Linked DNA regions of Homo sapiens: region 1 is linked to region 2. The links are contacts of gene promoters, found by promoter capture Hi-C in human tissues and cell types (Jung and others, 2019). All regions are on one chromosome and are shown on one strand. Each heading gives the region's core, a stretch centred on a gene start or on the middle of the fragment in contact. The rest is flanking DNA. Distances are from core to core; before and after follow the strand shown. Region 1 overlaps MPP7 (MAGUK p55 scaffold protein 7). Region 2 holds the start of MKX (mohawk homeobox).

Region 1 (3,369 bases), core at 217-2,716, 520 kb after region 2:
GAGGGAGAATCACTTGAGCCCAGGAGGTGGGACTGAACCACTGCAGTGAGCCGAGATTGCACCACTGCACTCCAGCCTGGGTGACAGAGAGAGACTCCATCAAAAAGAAAAAGAAAAAGATGAGGGGAGGGGGAGGGGAGAGAAGAGAAGGATGCAGGGAGGCAGGAGATGAGTTAGTTATGTTTTCTAATATGCATGAAAATAAAAGCATATGGGCAGGTGCAGTGGCTCATGCCTGGAATCCCAGTACTTTGGGAGGCTGAGGTGGGAGAATCGCTTGAGCCCAGGAGTTCTAGGCCAGAGCGTGGGCAACATGACAAAATCCCATCTCTACAAAAAAATACAAAAAATTAGCCAGGCACGGTGGTGTGCCCCTGTAATGCCAACTGCTCAGGAGGCTGAGGTGGGAGGATCACCTGAGTCCAGGAAGTCAAGGCTGCAGTGAGCCATGATTGTGCCACTGCACTCCAGCCTGGGTGACAGAGCAAGAGTCTGTCACTCTGTCCCCCATAACAAGAAAAGCATAGTGCTTAAAACAAAAACTCTTCATTAGAATACTTCAGAAATAACCCTGCATGTCCATACTTAGGAAACATTGATATTTAACAAAACAAACAAAAACACAGAAAACACTATATTAGCAGCTATTTATAAATACTGTTACAATAATTTTATGGCATTATCATCATCGACATATTTGAGTCCATCCCTCTTTCTACTTGTTAATTAATACATGCTTAATTATCTAAAAAGTATTCAATCATTTCCAGTGGCAATTCATCCATTCCAGTCTCCCTGGCTCTCTATAAATGATCTATGTATTATATTATGTATTAGTCTATATGTATGCATTAGTTAATGATCTGAAGCAGTTATACAAAGCTTCCTTATACCTACAGACTATAAATGGTTCTTTCCTTCAATCACTTGTCAAGATAAAGAAATCTAAAACATATGAAAATACCAGAGACTATATTTAACTATGTTCTAACCAAATAGTATGTTTCTGGCCAGGCATGGTGGCTCATGCCTGTAATCCCAACACTTTAGGAGGCCAAGGTGGGCGGATCACCTGAGGTCAGGAATGAGACCAGCCTGACCAACAGGGCAAAACCCTGTCTCTACTAAAAATACAAAAATTAGCCAGACATGGTGGCACATGCCTGTAGTGCCACCTACTCAAGAGGCTGAGACAGGAGAATCGCTCGAACCTAGGAGGCGGAGGTTGCAGTGAGCCAAGATTGTGCTGCTGCACTCCAGCTTGGGTAACAGAGAGACTCCATCTCAAAAAAAAAAAAAAAAAAAAAAAAATTTTTTTTAAATAGCATGTTTCTTCTGGCACAATTTAAAGTGAAAGTGAAAAGGCTCTGTTTTCTACATGATGCATTTCAACTCAGTGTGAGTTGATTTATTTTATGCCCAATTGATGTTAGAGAAAGAATTCAAATGGTTTTTCCAAGTATGTAAGGTGCCTACAAAATTACACTATAAAATTTATTCTTTAATAGCCTAGTTCTTTACCAAAGCAATTAGTTTTCATAAGTCACTCCAGCAAATCACAAAGCCAGATGGGTCCCCAATTCAATCAATTATCTTTAATCTTTCAACTAAGAAAAATTGCTCTTTATATACTTTGTCTCTGTAGTTCTCTTTCCAGAATTAACCATTTTGGCAGTGATGTATGCTTGTTAGCAAAAGTAGATCCTACACACAGGTGAGAAAACACAGAATTAACTGTGAACACTTTCCTTCCTAGCAAGGTGAGCAGAACACTGAACCATGACTTAACGAAAGACTGCCCAAGTCATTCACTGGGGTGGAACCCTATGGTGTTTATCACAAACATACTTCCCACCAACACGGTGGCTTTGCGCTCCACTGGCCAGTGCTTTTTATATTGAAATGAGTCAAAGACCAGATCCAGCGCAGTCACCATAGTTCCACTAAGATTTAAGCGAGGCAAACCATTGTCCCTGCCATTCTATCCTAAATGTGGTCATAAGTGGGACAGCAGAGAAAGCCACAGTACTTATCCAAGGTTGCAACACCTCCACTCTTCTGCTGACCTCCAAATACATACCTAGGCAGCACAGCCTTCTCCATCAGGTGACCCCAGAGTACACAGAGTGTGGATATCAGACACACCCCAATGACAATGACGTAGAACACCCTCCAATGTAGTACAAGAAACTGATCATACAATATACTCACAAATACATTTCTCTATCCTGAGAGAGAGACCGGTTTATCTCACTTTCTATCTCTCCATTTATAATTTTTGGCCAGGTGCCAATGGCTCATGTCTGTAACCTCAACACTTTGGGAGGCCGAGGCAGGAGGATTGCTTGAGCCCAGGAGCTCGAGACCAGCTTGGGCAACATAACAAGACCCCATTATGGCTCACACCTGTAATCCCAGCACTTTGGGAGGCCGAGGTGGGTGGATTGCTTGAGGTCAAGAGTTCAAGACCAGCCTGGCCAACATGGTGAAACCCCATCTCTACTAAAAATACAAAAAATTAGCCGGGCATGGTGGCGCACACCTGTAGTCCCAGCTACTCAGGAGGCTGAGGCAGGAGAATCGCTTGAACTTGGGACCAGAGGTTGCAGTGAGCTGAGAATGCACCACTGCACTCCAGCCTGGGCGACAGAGCAAGACTCTGTCTCAAAAAAAAGAAAAAGGAAATAAATAAATAAATAAATTATATATATATATATATATATACATATATATATATATATACATATATATATATATATACATATATATATATATGTATATATATATATATATATTTTTTTTTTTTTCTTCACCATGTTGGCCAGGATGGTCTCGCTCTCCTGACCTTGTGATCCACCGGCCTCGGCCTCCCAAAGTGCTGGGATTACAGGTGTGAGCCACCATGCCCAGCCAATAATATAATTTTTGACTGAACTAGTAATTTATAATGAAACTAACAGTATATCCCAAAGAGGCACAATGCATTAAGCCAGTAACTGCAAGTCCTTTTAAAAAGTTGTCACAAATATTTTAGGTTACTACACAGGTGTCATAAATAATACTCTAGTATAAATGGCCTTTGGCCCTTTGGAAGCCACAGACATTTTTTAATCTGATGAAAACTATGGATCCTTTCTTTCCTAAGAAACATTCGCTAGTTACACAAAAAGCTGCACCTATTCTAAACAGGTTGTACATTCATTAGACTCTAAAGTCCAATCATGTACACAGCTCAGGAACTCTTACTTGAGTGGCTTGAGGAGACTAATACAATGCTAAATCTCACATTTAGCCGGACGCAGTGGCTCACGCCTGTAATCCCAGCACTTTGGGAGGCCGAGGTGGGCAGATCATTTGAGGTCAGGAGTT
Region 2 (3,511 bases), core at 173-2,672:
AGGCAGCTTGGTCGGCGCACCTCCCGGGCCACTGCTGCCACTGTCGGGGAGAGCCAGCAGCTCACCTCTGGGGTCGCGGAGGCCCTGAGCCTCTGCCTGCCGCGCACCGGCGTCAGGAGCAAGTCCGCGCGGCCGCGGAGCCGCAGAGTTACAGCCCCAAGGCGCGCGGCGGACTTCGCCCGCCCCATCTCCTCGCCTCGCGCCTCGGGACAGCTCCCGTTTCCTCCGAGCGGCCTCAGCTTCGCTGCCAGCGCCCCCTTTGCCCGTCCAGCCGCGGCATGGGCTGCTACTCCACTAACACACGCGCGCGCGCATACACACACACACACACACACACACACACACACACCCTTTGCCTCGCCAAGCGCCCACACTCGCCAACGCCCCCGCCCCGCCCTTCGGCCACCGCAGCAGAGGCCACGCGTGACATTTAGGACCACGCGTGACCACCGCGATCAAACGACGGCTACGGTCTGTGTTCGTAGGGAAGTGAAGTCAGACCTCTGCTGGATGTCGTGTGTCCCCTAGGACTGCGTCCTCCCGCGCAGACAGGTACGTGCCTGGGGTGTGCACATAGCCTCGGTGATAAGTGTCAAAGAGAATTTTCGTGCTTGCAGCCCCTGTTCTACAGTCAAGACTCGCGTTGGTGTTTTCTTTTAAAATCATGCCCTTAGGGATGTGTGTTCATGCTGCTTTATTTGTACAAGACACCCTTCCCCGGCCCGGCCTTCTCCGAGCCACCCCAGCGCGTCCTCCTAGATGCGACGACGTGTTTTTCCTAGCGAAGTCATCACGAGGTTAGCCACCTCGGACACTTCCCCGGCAGCCCCAAGCCCACGCAGAGATCGCAGACACAGACACCCGGCGCGCTGTAGGTCTGCAGGCAGCAGGCTCAGAGGCAAGCGATGGCAAAGGTCCGAGCGCTGTCCTGTCGCAAGGGGTCCGGGGGCGTGTGAACCACACTTGCTGACCCTCCCAGGACTCCCGCGCGCGGCCACCCGCGCCTCTTCTCAAATCACTTACCCCGATTCACTCCAGACTGTGGCCGGGGAGGTCACTCCCTGCAGAAGTGTCCCCCTCCCCCAACGCCGGCGAATAATTTTAAAGCAAAGGAGGCGCGGCCAGGTGGGCTCCCAAGCTCCGCGCAGACCCTTGGGCCAGCCTTGGCCGCTACCCGAGCGCCTCTCCACCAGACCTTGGAGGGAAGTTGGGGGAAGGGCGGGAGAGCACCGGCGCCCAGGGCGCAGGGGCCAGAGCGAGCCTGGCGTTCCGCCGCAGCCGGCTGAGACTCGGCGACGCGGGGGCTGTACCTGTGGCTGCGGGGCCGACGGCCGGCTGCAGGGCGGCTGGCTCTCCCGCCTCGAGACTAGGCGCACTCCCATCCCCGCCGCATGTTCTCCACGCGGGCTCCAGCGCGCTCACCACCGCCACCGCCGTCGTCTCGGCTTTATTTACCCAGCCCGGCGCGCGCCGCCCGGGAACAGGAATAGCGAGGCCTTCTCATGTTTCCTGACTGCCGGTCCCAGCCGGCGAACATCCTGCGGGCGCGGTATCCACGTTCCCGGGCGGGTGGAGAGGAAGCGTCCGCGCCCGCCCGGCCGCGGGGGCTGCTGTTAACCCCTAGCAGAGGAGCCGCTGCCGGGGAGCCCCGGGCCCGCCGAGTCCTCCGGAGCCGGGCGCGGCTCCCAGATCCGCCGGCCTTGCAGTCGTGGAGCAGACGGGGCTTTTCCCTTCGCACTTTAGGAGAGAAATTGGAGAAGCTGCCGGGAGCGCTCGGCTCCGGCTCCAGAAGCTGAGAGGCTGCGGTGCAAATCCCGTGTCTTAGCTGGCCCGATTGCCGGAAATTTCACTGCGCGTGGCTAGGCGGGAGAGGCCACTGTGACGCGCCCTGTATTTTCCTCTCGATTAGCTGGAGGGAAGTTAGAGCTCCGTTTTGCACCTACAGCCCTGGAGCGTATTGCGGGAAGTGCTAGTGCCCAGGAGCCTCTTTTCTGATGTCACTGGGCTTCTGGGGTCCTAGTTGTCTCAGTCAAAGCCAGGCACACATTCACCTCCGGGGCAAGGGCTGGTGAGGCTGCCCTCGCCGCTGGGTATAGGGATGGGGGAAAGCAAGGATGGGATGAGTTCAGCCCAGGTGGCCAACCCGCGGTGGCCCAAGTGCAGAAGAGGAAGCGCGCCCAAAGCCAAGGATCTGCACGCAGCAAAGGAGATGGAACTTAGAAGAATCACAAGCTGGGACACAGGGCAAAGAGAGAGAATGGCTACCAGATTCTCTGATTGATGATACTTTGCTTCCTAACATTACCGCAAATATAAGTAGCGAAAGCGGCGGTTTAGGTGCAACTGCAAGCTCAGAGCTTCTGGCAGCCCAGAAGATCCCCAAGGTGCCAACACGAAGCTGCCTGCGCTCTCGCCGAAGGCCCTGTGGTCCTAGCGAACTTTCGCCCTTTTTAAAGAACAAACTTAGATTTCCCCCCACCAAGCTTAAAGAAATAGCGCCATTTGTCCTTTTCCCCTCTAAATGCGGCTGGCCAGAGCCGGGGCAGTGGCCCACCTTAGCATCTTCTTCGTGTGTGTGTGTGTGTGTGCGCGTGTGTGTGTGTGTGTTTGTGTGTTGGGGGGGTCGCTAGAAGTGCTTAAAATATATACCAAAACTATTATTTTAAAGACTAATCACACCCTCAAATTTCATATGTGTCACCTCCCAAATTACGCGATAGCAAACCGTTGTGCAGGGGTACAATGTAAACCATAAAGGAAGGCCGGTTTACATTTTTGCGCACCAGGAAGATACAAAGTATCATTGGAGCACGTTCTGATGTCCTCGGTTCTCTTTTGTTATATAACTTGCTGTTGCAGCGCTTGCATCTTGTCTTTGGCGCTGCCCTTGTGGTGTGAGTTCAGTACAGGCTTCTGGTCTACAGACCTCGCTGTAGGAGCTTAAAGACAGGGGTAAATCCTAAGGTTTCAGCCATCAATTTTCAGCTAACAAATTTCACCACAGAAGCAGATCTAATTGATAATTCATAGGACAAAAGAGCCACCTTCTCTTTTATGGTCTCTATCAGTGGTGTTAGTCACCGGGAATTGTAATGAAATTAGCTCTAACATACCCCTGAAACATTTTTTGGTCAGCTGTCCCAGGTAAAGCAATAGGCATCATACAGTTACTTGCAATTTCCCAGTATTCTACTAACTTTTTGAGCTATATGCTATAGTACATGTTAGTATAGGACAAATGAATTTTGTTGTTTTAGTACTTAACTATATTTACTCAATTTAAAAATGCATTTAGAGCGCTTTTAAGATATACTTACATGTAATATTTGTTTTCTTAAAGTCTGAAATGAAATATACAGCAAAAATCTTAATGCAAAAATACTTTTCATTTGATATAGGAATAAAATACATTTGAGTAAGCCTCAACTCACTAAAAAATTAACATATGGTAATTCCCTTAGACTATGATTTAATAATTAAAATCCATTTAAAAATGAAAGAAGAGTGAAGG

What was found. The method cuts DNA at HindIII sites, captures the fragments that hold promoters and counts their contacts. A contact is called where the count stands out against the background at its distance.
Region 1: a fragment that was not itself captured here is called in contact with the fragment with the promoter of MKX in region 2 in 1 of the 25 tissues and cell types used here (H1 embryonic stem cells).

What each region holds. Positions count from the first base shown.
Region 1 is chr10:28,259,484-28,262,852 of GRCh38, forward strand. The region is part of intron 1 of MPP7 (MAGUK p55 scaffold protein 7); the gene reads right to left. Among named protein-coding and RNA genes, the nearest start is that of MIR8086, 28 kb to the right of the region's middle. The HindIII fragment of the contact is 3,764 bases long and covers 1-3,348 here.
Region 2 is chr10:27,744,397-27,747,907 of GRCh38, forward strand. It overlaps MKX (mohawk homeobox), which reads right to left and starts at 1,423. Exons shown (of 7, transcript NM_173576.3): 1 at 1,311-1,423. MKX-AS1 (MKX antisense RNA 1) reads left to right here and starts at 219. Exons shown (of 2, transcript NR_121652.1): 1 at 219-552. RefSeq lists an enhancer at 914-1,504. The HindIII fragment of the contact is 9,708 bases long and covers 1-3,116 here.